Regions from separate parts of the Homo sapiens genome. Here region 1 is linked to region 2. Evidence: promoter capture Hi-C in human tissues and cell types (Jung and others, 2019). All regions are on one chromosome and are shown on one strand. The core of a region is centred on a gene start or on the middle of the fragment in contact, and the rest is flanking DNA. Distances in the headings are between cores, read along the strand shown. Region 1 has its middle 45 kb from the start of SDR9C7. Region 2 holds the start of SDR9C7 (short chain dehydrogenase/reductase family 9C member 7).

Evidence for each region. The method cuts DNA at HindIII sites, captures the fragments that hold promoters and counts their contacts. A contact is called where the count stands out against the background at its distance.
Region 1: a fragment that was not itself captured here is called in contact with the fragment with the promoter of SDR9C7 in region 2 in 2 of the 25 tissues and cell types used here (H1 embryonic stem cells and mesenchymal stem cells).

What each region holds. Positions count from the first base shown.
Region 1 is chr12:56,886,515-56,893,184 of GRCh38, forward strand. No RefSeq gene overlaps it. Among named protein-coding and RNA genes, the nearest start is that of SDR9C7, 45 kb to the right of the region's middle. The HindIII fragment of the contact is 5,339 bases long and covers 2,431-6,670 here.
Region 2 is chr12:56,932,632-56,939,193 of GRCh38, forward strand. It overlaps SDR9C7 (short chain dehydrogenase/reductase family 9C member 7), which reads right to left and starts at 1,777. Exons shown (of 4, transcript NM_148897.3): 1 at 1,330-1,777. The coding sequence starts at 1,630. The HindIII fragment of the contact is 4,226 bases long and covers 1-2,716 here.

The DNA of each region.
Region 1 (6,670 bases), core at 3,850-6,349, 43 kb before region 2:
AAGTCTGATGCAGGGGTGGAGCCCTCATGGAGAACTTTTACTAGGGCAGTGCAGAAGGGAAATATGGGGTTGGAACTCTCACACAGAGTCCCCACTGGGGCACTGCGTAGTGGAGCTGTGAGAAGACGGTCACCATCCTCCAGACCCTAGAATGATAGATACACTGACAACTTGTACTGTGCACCTGGAAAAGCTGTAGGCACTCAACACCAGCCCATGAAATCAGTTGAGGGAGATGTACCCTGTAGAGCCACAGAGGTGGCACTGCCCAAGGCCTTGGGAGCCCACCCTTTGCATCAATGTAGCCTACATGTGAGACATGGAGTCAAAGGAGATTATTTTGGAGCTTTAACATTTAATGACTGCCCTTCTGGGTTTTGGACTTGCATGGGGCCTGTAGTCCCTTTGTTTTGGCTGATTTTTCCCTTTTGGAATGAGTGTACTTACCCAATGCCTGTAGCCCCATTATATCTTGGAAGTGACTAACTTGTTTTTTATTTTACAGGGTCATAGGTGGAAGGGACTTGCCTGGTCTCATATGAGACTTTTGGTTGTGAACTTTTGAGTTAATGCTGAAACGAGTTAAGACTTTGGTGGGCTGTTGAGAAGAGATGATTGCATTTTGCAATGTGAGAAAGACACGAGATTTGGGAGTGGCCAAGGGCCGAATGATATGGTTTGTATCTGTGTCCCTGCCCAAATCTCATGTCCAATTGTAATACATAATATTGGTGGAGGGGCCTGGTGGGAGGTGATTGGATAATGGGAACAGATTTCACCCTTGCTGTTCTCATGATAGTGAGTGAGTTCTCATGAGATCTGTTTAAAAGTGTGTAGCACCTCCCCCTTCATCCTCTTCCTCCTTCTCTGGCCATGTAAGATGTGCCTGTTTCCCCTTCACCTTCTGCTGTGATTGTAAGTTTTCTGAGACCTCCCTGGACCATGCTTCTTGTACAGTCTGCAGAACTCTGAGTCAATTAAACCTCTTTTCTTTATAAATAACCCAGTCTCAGGTAGTTCTTTATAGCAACATGAGAATGGACTAATACAGACTGGATGTGCGAATTAGGGGCACCCACTATAAGGCGGGGGTAGTGGGTTGTGTGAGGCATCCCCATGCAGCATAGGGGCATTTAAAAGGGCTTCTAATAAATGTTCCCCATCATTGTGAGAAAATTCTTGCTATATGTCTACAGCTATAAATATTCTTATCCCAATCAAAATCTCAGGTTTATATCCAAGTTCAGCCACTTTAAAAGGCAATGTCAAATTATTTGGAATGAAATAATTTTCTCTTTATTGGGTAAATGTCTGAGGAGATTTATAATAGAGTATAGAAATGGTAATGTATAGAGACAGTCAAGTAAACCAAACCCTGAATTATTATTTTGAATTAAATTTGGAAATGATTTATACAGTATTTTAAGTATTTAAAAATAAAAGAGAATGTGGCATATTATGAACAATTTCACATAATAGATTATCAAACACATTTGCTTTCTAATTCCAATTTTTAAATGTATAATGAGTATTCAATTAGATTTGTGATTTTAAGATAAAAGAAAATTGTGCTATATTATAAATCATATTAGAAAGTTTAAGATAACATGGCTTTGCCATATTTATATGTTGTATTACTTGATTTATAAGGCTTATTTAGGGTTTATCAGTCATACAATTGATAATTGTATTTATTTATTTTCTTTTGTTTACAATTCTATTAAAGACATACTTTAAAAGAAAATTAAATATGTTAAATTTATGAACACAGTTTATGTTTTTAAAGTGAGTTTAATTAACACAATGAAATATTAATTTAAGTTCCCCTTAAGAAATTGATAACATTGGGGTGGAGCCCACCACAGCTCAACGAGACCTCCCTGCCTCTGTAGACTCCACCTCTGGGGGTAGGGCATAGCTGAACAAAAGGCAGCAGAAACTTCTGCAGACTTAAACTTCCCTGTCTGACAGCACTGAAGAGAGAGCAGTGGTTCACCCAGCACAGTGTTTGAGCTCTGAGAACAGACAGACTGCCTCCTCAAGTGGGTCCCTGACCCCCGTGTAGCCTAACTGGGAGACACCTCCCAGTAGGGGCCGACTGACACCTCATACAAGCAGGTGCCTCTCTGAGACAAAGCTTCCAGAGGAAGGATTAGACAGCAATATTTGCTGTTCTGCAATATTTGCCATTCTTCAGCCTCTGCTGGTGATACACAGGCAAACAGGGTCCGGAGTGGACCTCCGAAAAACTCCAAAAGACCTGCAGCTGACGGACCTTTTAGAAGGGAAACTAACAAACAGAAAGGAATAGTACCAACATCAACAAAAAGGACATCCGCACCAAAAACCCATCTGTAGGTCACCAACATCAAAGACCAAAGGTAGATAAAACCATGAAGATGGGGAGAAACCAGAGCAGAAAAGCTGAAAATTCTAAAAGCCAGAGGGACTCTTCTCCTTCAAAGTACCACAGCTCCTCGCCAGCAATGGAACAAGGCTGGATGGAGAATGACTTTGATGAGTTGACAGAAGTAGGCTTCTGAAGGTCGGTAATAACAAACTTCTCCGAGCTAAAGGAGGATGTTCAAATCCATCACAAGGAAGCTAAAAACTGAAAAAAGATTAGACAAATGACTAACTAGAATAAACAGTGTAGAGAAGACCTTAAATGACCTGATGAAGCTGAAAACCATGGCACAAGAACTATGTGATGCATGCACAAGCTTTAGTAGCCGATTCAATCAAGTGGAAGAAAGCGTATCAGTGATTGAAGATCAAATGAATGAAATGAAGCGAGAAGAGAAGCTTAGAGAAAAAAGAATAAGAAGAAATGAACAAAGCCTCCAAGAAATATGGGACTATGTGAAAGGACCAAATCTACATTTGATTGGTGTACCTGAAAGTGACAGGAAGAAGGGAACCAAGCTGGAAAACACTCTTCAGGATATTATCCAGGAGAACTTCCCCAACCTAGCAAGGCAGGCCAACATTCAAATTCAGGAAATACAGAGAACACCACAAAGATACTCCTTGAGAAGAGCAACCCCAAGACACATAATTGTAAGATTCACCAAGGTTGAAATGAAGGAAAAAACGTTAAGGGCAGCCAGAGAGAAAGGTTGGGTTACCCACAAAGGGAAGCCCATCAGACTAACAGCAGATCTCTCCACAGAAACTCTACAAGCCAGAAGAGAGCGGGGACCAATATTCAACATTCTTAAAGAAAAGAATTTTCAACCCAGAATTTCATATCCAGCCAAACTAAGCTTCATAAGTGAAGGAGAAATAAAATCCTTTACAGACAAGCAAATGCTGAGAGATTTTGTCACCACCAGGCCTGCCTTACAAGAGCTCCTGAAGGAAGCACTAAACATGGAAAGGAACAACTGGTACCAGCCACTGCAAAAACATGCCAAATTGTAAAGGCCATCAATGCTAGGAAGAAACTGCATCAACTAATGGGCATAATAACCAGCTAACATCATAATGACATGATCAAATTCACACATAACAATATTAACCTTAAATGTAAATGGGCTAAAAGCCCCAATTAAAAGACACAGACAGGAGATTGGATTAAAAAATCAAGACTCATCAGTTTGCTGTATTCAGGAGATCCATCTCATGTGCAGAGACACACATGGGCTCAAAATAGAGGGATGGAGGAAGATCTACCAAGCAAACGAAAAGCAAAAAAAAAAAAAAAAAAACCAAAAAAAAAACAGGGGTTGCAATCCTAGTCTCTGATAAAACAGACTTTAAACCAACAAAGATCAAAAGAGACAAAGAAGGCCCTTACATAATGGTAAAGGGATCAATTCAACAAGAAGAGCTAACTATCCTAAATATATATGCACCCAATACAGGAGCACCCAGATTCATAAAGCAAGTCCTTAGAGACCTAAAAAGAGACTTAGACTCCAACACAATAATAACGGGAGACTTTAACACCCCACTGTCAAGATTAGACAGATCAACGAGACAGAAGGTTAACAAGGATATCCATGACTTGAACTCAGCTCTGCACCAAGCTGACCTAATAGACGTCTACAGAACTCTCCACCCCAAATCAACAGAATATACATTCCTCTCAGCACCACATCACACGTATTCCAAAATTGACAACATAGTCGGAAGCAAAGCACTCCTCGGCAAATGTAAAAGAACAGAAATCACAACAAACTGTCCCTCAGACCACAGTGCAATCAAATTAGAACTCAGGATTAAGAAACTTACTCAAAACCACTCAACTACATGGAAACTGAACAACCTGCTCCTGAATGACTACTGGCTAAAAAACGAAATGAAGGCAGAAATAAAGATGGTCTTTGAAACTGATGAGAACAAAAACACAATGTACCAGAATCTTTGGGACACATTTAAAGCAGTATGTAGAGGGAAATTTATAGCACAAAATGCCCACAAGAGAAAGCAGGAAAGATCTAAAATCAACATCCTAACATCACAATCAAAAGAACTAGACAAGCAAGAGCAAACAAATGGAAAAGCTTGCAGAAGGCAGGAAATAACTAAGAGCAGAGCAGAACTGAAGGAGATAGAGACACAAAAACCCTTCAAAAAATCAATGAATCTAGGAGCTGGTTTTTTGAAAAGATCAACAAAATTGATAGACCGCTAGCAAGACTAATAAAGAAGAAAAGAGAGAAGAATCAAATAGACACAATAAAAATGAGAAAGGGGATATCAGCACTGATCCCACAGAAACACAAACTACCATCAGAGAATACTATAAACACCTCTACACAAATAAACTACAAAATCTAGAAGAAACGGATACATTCCAGGACACACATACCCTCCCAGACTAAACCAGGAAGAACTTGAATCCCTGAATAGACCAATAACAGACTCTGAAATTGAGGCAATAATTAACAGCCTATCAACCAAAAAAAAGTCCAGGACCAGATGGATTCACAGCCGAATTCTACCAGAGGAAGAAAGAGGAACTGGTACCATTCCTTATAAACCTATTCCAATCAATAGAAAAAGAGGTAATTCTCCCTAACTCATTTTATGAGGCCAGCATCATCCTGATACCAAAGCCTGGCAGAGACACAACAAAAAAAGAGAATTTTAGACCAATATCCCTGATGAACATTGATGTGAAAATCCTCAATAAAATACTGGCAAACCAAATCTAGCAGCACATCAAAAAGCTTATCCAACAAGACCAATTTGGCTTTATCCCTGAGATGCAAGTCTGGTTCAACATATGCAAATCAACAAACATAATCCATCACACAAACAGAACCAAACACAAAACCACATGATTATCTCAATAGATGCAGAAAAGGCCTTTGACAAAATTCAACAGCCCTTCATGCTAAAAACTCAATAAACAAGGTATTGATGGGATGTATTTCAAAATAATAAGAACTATTTATGACAAACCCACAGCCAATATCATACTGAATGGGCAAAAACTGGAAGCATTCCCTCTGAAAACTGGCACAAGGCAGGGACGCCCTCTCTCACCATTCCTTTTCAACACAGTGTTGGAAGTTCTGGCCAGGGCAATCAGGCAACAGAAAGAAATAAAGGGCATTCACCTAGGAAAAGAGGAAGTCAAATTGTCCCTGTTTGCAGACGACATGATTGTATATTTAGAAAAACCCATCGTCTCAGCCCAAAATCTCCTCAAGCTGATAAGCAAATTCAGCAAAGTCTCAGGATACAAAATCAATGTGCAAAAATAACAAGCATTCCTATATACCAATAACAGACAAACTGAGAGCCAAATCATAAGTGAACTCCCATTCACAATTGCTACAAAGGATTAAAATACCTAGGAATCCAACTTACAAGGGATGTGAAGGACCTCTTCAAGGAGAACTACAAACCACGGCTCAATGAAATAAAAGAGGATACAAACAAATGGAAGAACATTCCATGGTCATGAATAGGAAAAGTCAATATCATGACAATGGCCATACTGCCTAGGGTAATTTATAGATTCAATGCCATCCCCATCAAGCTACCAATGACTTTCTTCACAGAATTGGAAAAAACTACTTTAAAGTTCATATGGAACCAAAAAAGAGCCCACATTGCCAAGACAATCCTAAGCCAAAAGAACAAAGCTGGAGGCATCATGCTACCTGACTTCAAACTATACTACAAGGCTACAGTAACCAAAACAGCATGGTACTGGTACCAAAACAGACATATAGACCAATGGAGCAGAACAGAGCCCTTAGAAATAACACCACACATCTAAAACCATCTGATCTTTGACAAACCTGACAAAAACAAGAAATGGGGAAAGGATTCCCTATTTAATAAATGGTGCTGGGAAAACTGGCTAGCCATATGTAGAAAGCTGAAACTGGATCCCTTCCTTACACCTTATACAAAAATTAATTCAAGATGGATTAAAGACTTCAACGTTAGACCTAAAACCATAAAAACCCTAGAAGAAAACCTAGGCTATACTATTCAGTACATAGGCATGGGCAAGGACTCCATGACTAAAACACCAAAAGCAATGGCAACAAAAGCCAAAATTGACCAATGGTATCTAATTAAACTAAAGAGCTTCTGCACAGCAAAATAAACTATCATCAGTGTGAACAGGCAACCTACAGAATGGGAGAAAATTTTTGCAATCTATCCATTAGACAAAGGGCTAATATCCAGAATCTACAAAGAA
Region 2 (6,562 bases), core at 527-3,026:
TGAGACAGCCTGCTGAAGACAGAGGCTCACTCTTGCTGAATTATTAATTAATTAGCTCACTCAAATCTATTTATTCAGTACCTTACTAGGTGCCAGACATTATTCTAGGTACTAAGGATGTACAGTAAATAAAAGGGACAAAAATCCTTGTCCCCAGGAAGCTTTATTCTAGCAGAGGAAACAGACAATAAATAAGTAAAATCTATTGTACATTGACTAGTGATAAGTGCTAAGGAGAAGAATCAAGCAGGGAGTTACTGTCTAGATCCCCCTGGCTCCAGGGCTCTGTTGCCCTGACCTGCGCATGGGCTCCAGACTAGTTCCTTTAGGAGGGAGGACTTCCTCTAGTCTGCTGCTTCTGCAACTCAGCCATCCTGTTCCTCCTGTTCCTGGGCCCACACCCTGTGTGCTGGAAGTGCATGAGGCAGGTCCCCACACAGTCCTGGGCCAGCCCCAGTCCACAGCTTCCTTTCCCAATAGGAGCAGCCACTGTGACATACATACTTGCCCTGAAGTCAAATCAACACCCACCATGATGTCAAGAAGAGACCAGATCTCTTTCTCCCCTGCCTGACATAGTCAAGGAGACAAACTGCACCCACTCATGGGATCCAGCCTCCTGTCTCATTCCCCCTCCCCCATCCTGATCCCAACAAGAAATGTGTTTGTATTTCCCCAGGAGCTGATGGTTAGGACTGCTGAAACATCAGAGAGGCACATCCTTTTTTTTTCTTTTTTTTCTTTTTGAGAGGGATTCTTGCTCTGTCACGAGGCTGGAGTGCAGTGGCGCAATCTTGGCTCACTGCAACCTCCGCCTCCCGGGTTCAAGTGATTCTCCTGCCTCAGCCTCCTGAGTAGCTGGGACTACAGGCACGTGCCACCACACCCAGGTAATTTTTATACTTTTTAGTAGAGATGGGGTTTCACCATGTTGGCCGGGATGGTCTCGATCTCTTGACCTCATGATCCTCCCACTTCGGCCTTCCAAAGTGCTGGGCTCATAGGCGTGAGCCACCACGCCCAGCCAGGCACGTCCATTTTTAGAGGTTTGGACACACAGAACACATCTTCCCCCCTCGCTTCCTATTGAGACCTCTTTCCCGTTTCTCTGAGTTTCCAGGACAGAAAACTTCCTTGGGAAATCACCCCTTCATGTGAACAGGCCAAACCATGCAGTGGCTTCCAATCAGATTGAGGCAGGGGCCTTTCCCTACATCACCCCTCCCACCCAATCTGGACATCAGGGTCTCTGATACTGTCAGATGCTTCGGGAGAGAGGAAGAGGAAGAAGGAGAAACCAAGAAAGCCAAAGAATGTAATTCGCCCCACCTTGTTCGCCCACTTTGTCCCTCACCCACTGGGCCGCCGCCTTGATGCTTTCGCTCTTGGTGACATCCAGTAGGGTGGTCTGCAGCCGATAGGAGGTATCCCGCTGAAGTTTCTGGGATCCCTCCTCAGTGAAGCAAGCAGCCAGCACCTGCATGCCCCGATCAACCAGCTGTTTGGCCAGCAGGTTCCCGAAGCCAGAGTCACAGCCTGTGATGAAGACGTACTTCTCTGAGAGGTTGCCAACCAGATTGCAGTTCTTGAACCAGCGATACATAAATGAGAGGTCTGTGAGGGCCGCCATAGGGCAAGGGGAATGTGATGGCCAAGAGGGACTGGGCTCAGGAGACAGCAGGGAAGAAGCTGGTCCTCTGAGCCCTAGCAGGCAGTCTGCAGGAAACCACCTGGAAGAAGAACTCTCCTTCCTCCCACAGCTTGCAACAAATCTAGGTCCCTGGGTGAGCCACGCTGTAATTTTTATAGGTGGATGCATCACCACAGCAATTAGCCCAGATGCAAGAAATTCAAGTCCAACCTGAAGCCTTGTCACCTCTGACAGCCCTGGTAGCTGCCTCCCTCTCTCCCCCTGCCCTGATGGGTAAAGCTGCCAAGAATTGGAAATAATCCACTTGTAATGTTGGTGATGAGTGGTGGCTCACCCAGGCGGTGTAAGGCAGGCAAATGAAAGATGAGGACTCACCCCAGACAGCTCCCCTAGAAATCCTGTCCCCACCCTGCCCCCAACCCAGCCTGGGGATTTTGGTCTCCAGGGATCAAAATCATTTGTCGTGAGTGCAGGTATGTAAATAAGTTTATTTTCAGGGAAAATACTCAAGACAAATTTATTAATGTAAAACAAACAACATTGGTTCTGTACCTTCCAAACCCCAAGAGAAACAAGTCGCAGGTCATCAGCTCTCTGGAATTCTTAGGTAAGTCTCCATCATGAGAGAGGATGAAAAGCAATGGATTTCTCCTAGGGTGGATGTACCTCCATTGTCCTGAGGCTAGAGGCAGCAGGGCCCTCCTATAGGGGAGGCTGGCATGTGAAGCTTAGCCACCAGAAAGCAGAAAGACCTGGGGGACTCAGGCCTGACACCCTGTGGGGGTCATACTCAGGTCACCAGTAAGCAGCCCTGGGCAAGATGATGAGGAGGGATCATGAGTTCACTGGGCAGCTGAGGGAATTGTCTGGGCAGAGGCCTTGACTGTAAGAGGGGATGAGATATAGGAGGAGCAGAGAACTGGGGCCAGAGACATAGAAAATTCTCAGGGTCGGGACTTGGAGGAGAAACAGAGATTCTAGGCAATTTAGCAAATAATTTACAGAAAGCTAAGAGGTAAGGTGGTAAAGGAAAGGAAATAAGGAAACCAGAGGTGTGAGTAGTGAGGGGCCACACCCAGAATTGCATAAGATGCAGGGAATGATGCTGGAGCCTCTGTGGTTCTTTGGATCAACATCTAGGGTCACCATTCCTTGGGATGAGCCTGGTCCTAGCTCACACCTTCATGGCTTAGCGAGTCTGACACAGAAATGGGACCACAAAGTTCTCTAGTGTGAAGGGACAAAGGATGTATCTCTGTGATCCACCATTTGCCAAGTCTGACCAGCGTGGAATCACATAAAGCAGGTGTCACCCTGGGAAAGCCCCGCAGGGTTTGGCCGTTCCTTAACAAAGTAGGGGAGGGGGCCAGATTATGAACCCACCCCCAAAGAGCAGACCTAAAGCTTATAGGGGATGGAGGTGGGAAATGGTAGAAAGCAAACCACACCTACTTCATAACCAACCTGAGGCAGAGCACCTCCTATGCGGGATCTGGGAACAATCTCCCAGTCTCTGTCTGCCTCCTGGGTGAATGAACAGAGAAGTCTTGGCTGAAACAGGTCAGACCATGTCACTCAAGACTGAGCAGGTCCGGGGCATTGGGTATCCCAGTCCTTGAGGACACAGGTGAGGTCCAGGAGTTGGGTCTGACTTAGCATAAGGATAACTCAGAACTGCCCCAGCACAGGCCTGGGCCTGACTCAGCACCTCCTGGGCCTCTATGCTGGCAGTGTTCCCCTGGCCTCAAACTAAACACACAGTCCATGAGGGTGGGGGGTGTGAGGGAGGTAGGACCACATAGAAGGCTCTTCTTCCCAGGGCTAGAAATGCCTCCCTCTCTCAGATGACAGCATTCCTTGCCAAGCTGGCCCCTAAGGTCTGATAGGTCAGGTTGGTAGCTGCACTCCCCATCCCCACCCCATGCACACAGGTATCTCAGAGGAGAGGAGCCCTCTCCTCTGCCAGGCCATTTCCCTCCAGTGGGAGAGCATAGACTGCTGAGGTCCAAGACACACCCTGATGAGGTAGACAGGAGGAAGAGCAGGTGTGGGCTCACCCACCCCCAGTTGCTCAAGACCTTCCACAAGTGTGGATTCTTCAGGTTGACAGGTGGGCCATGAAGCTCAGAGCCCAAGGAAGTGGGATGCCATTATCTGTGATTGGGTCTCCCTTCCTAAGCAGCAAAATGTGGTTCTTTCCTCCTAATATCACCAGAGTCCTGAATAACGTCCCAGAAAAAAACTAGAACAGAGGTGAGGGAAGTGAGGTACATGACCCTGAACTTGAGAGCTCCCTCCCACCACTCTATTTCTCACCCCATGAAACAGCACCCCTCCCAAGTGCAATGATGTTAAAGTGAGGGCCGGTCACTGAGTGCTACAAAGAGGTCGCTACAAAGTGCTACAAAGAGGCCTGCCAGTGCCTTTGTGACATGTCATTGCTTCCTTGTCCCTCTGTGCACTCCTGTGACCCCAGGCTACTTGATTCACTCCTGGAAAGGAAACAATTGCCCCTCACCTTGGTGGCAGAAAGGGCTGAGACAGGGCAGGGATAATCCAACTTCTCTCTTCAATTTCCTCCTGAGTTCATCCCTCTTATCCCCAGATCCCCATGAAGGCACCTGCCTCCTCCTCCCTCTTGTTCACAGCCCATGCTCCCCTCAGACTAGAAGGCAACTTGCTGCACATGGCTGCACTTTTTAGCTTTTGCTCTAGAACTAAAGTAACCAGATGGTTTTTTGAGGGTCATGGTTTCAAGAGGGTCAAACATTGGTTCCTGTGTCCTCTGTCCGAATCCCTATTGAGAACACCACTGCCAGCCAATGGTTTTAAGAGGGTCAAACATTGGTTCCTGTGTCCTCTGTCAGAATCCCTATCGAGAACACCACTGCCAGCCAATGCCCCCAGAGCTGGCACCTGAGGTCTAGGGGTCAGGCTGATGGCTGCCCTGTCGCCCCACACCTTATCCACAGGTATATTCAGAGGAGCCCCCATCCACTTCCTCCAGGCCATTTCCATCATGGAGAGAGTGTAATAGACTGGCCAGGTTGATGCACACCTGGGGAAGAAGCAGGAGGCAGAGAAGGTGTGGGCTGTGGATCCTTCCCCTCCTCACACGCTCCCATTGTGTAGACTCCTCAGAATTGGCCAAGAGACTCAAAGGCAACAGGACACCTATGAGCGTTACTGGGTCCCAATCTTTAGAAGAACACCTTGGTTCTTTCCTCCTATGTTGCCAGTCCTGAGTGATATCTCAGTGGAATTCTGTGGAGGGCATGAGGAAGAAGCTGGGATAGGCATCCAAATGGCAAGAGTGCTCCCTCCCACCACACCATTACTCTCCCCAAGACACATCACCTCACCCAGATCACCCAGCTCCACCCAACCATGCACCCCAGTCTTGGATTCACAGGGGCTTAGCCAGCCTTGGAGAGCCCCAGTTGAGCGTGACGTCCATAGGAAGGTAGGCATGTCGCTCATGGGGAGGTAGAGAAGATTGGTGTCTCAGCCAGCTGAGTAGTGAGCGCTCCATGCAGTGGGTCAACAAGGATAGATTCGTACTGCATTTTGCCCAAAGCCTTCTAGATGCTTTTCTGATGCATGTTAAGGATGAGGAAAGATCCTTAAAGTACTAGCACATCCCTTCCCTCCCATTTAGAGCTCTGAATTAGGAGGACAGTGTCTAAGAATTCCAGGCCCCCCAAATGATATGCCTCAAGTCTAATCCATCCATATTCCCCAGAGAGTGCCCCAACCTTCACCCAAGGAACATCCGTTTCACTCTAAGCCCCCTCTGCCTCTCTTTTTGAGATATCTGGACTCATAAATGGAAGGTCTCTACTAACAGCCTAAGAATATGAAAATCAGCTATCTCTAAACCCAGCTGCCCATGAGCCCACTGGTAGCCACTGTCTCTGACTTTAGTTTCCTCTTCAAAATAATGAGGGATTCAGATGAGGCAGTGGTCCCAATTATAGAAAGCTTGGATGCTTCCTTTAGGTGAACAGTTGACCACATGGCACCCTGGGAATGGGGATAAATGTCCTCACTTTTTTGGGGAGGCAGAGTTTGGAGGACAGATTCTCATACTGTTGGAGGCACTAATGATGGACCCAGACTTCTAGACAAGGATTTCTTTATCTCCCCACTGTCCACAGCTCACTCACGGGATATCAGAAACTTCTCCCCATACGTCTCCTTGACCTCGGGGCTGGCCTAGTCCGACAGCTCCTTGAGGTTCTGTAAATGCCTCTCAGAGCCGGCCATACTGGTCCTGAAGTGACCAGGTTCAATCACAGACACCTTCACTCCAAAGTGGGAGAGCTCCCTCCTGCATGGCAGACATGCAGAAGGGCAAGGACTTAAGAAATTTTGGGAGGCAAAATACAAAAAACAAAGAAACCCAATACAAACCCAGCATGCAACGACAGTGGGAGATGCAAGAAAGCTTGGAGAGTTGGGAAGGGCAGCAGATAGCAGATAAAAGTTATGATGGTGGCCTTGCCTCTCTCTGGGGTTTCCATATTTTACATACCAAAGCTTACTAGCCCTAAGTCCTACCAATTCAAGAGCAAGGCAGCATCTCAGTGCTATCACCTCCTATGCCCCTCACATCCAATGGATCACCAGAATTCCCACATTCTACCTCCTCTGCAGTCCTCAGTCCCCTCCCTTCTTCTCCTGCCCCAGGAATCTCCCTGGCCTCTGAGCTGGGTGATGGCAGCTGTCCTCTAAGGAGCGTCCCTCTGCCTTCAGTCTGGCTCCCCACACTCACAGCCACTGGGCTCCCTGCAGTAAGTGGGTGTCTAGAAGCCGATTAGACCAAAGAGCTCCCCTGAGCAAATCCCTTCTTTGGGGGTTCCACTGCCAACAGCATGAGGCACAGCTCCTGTCCAGGGCCTCCACGAGCCC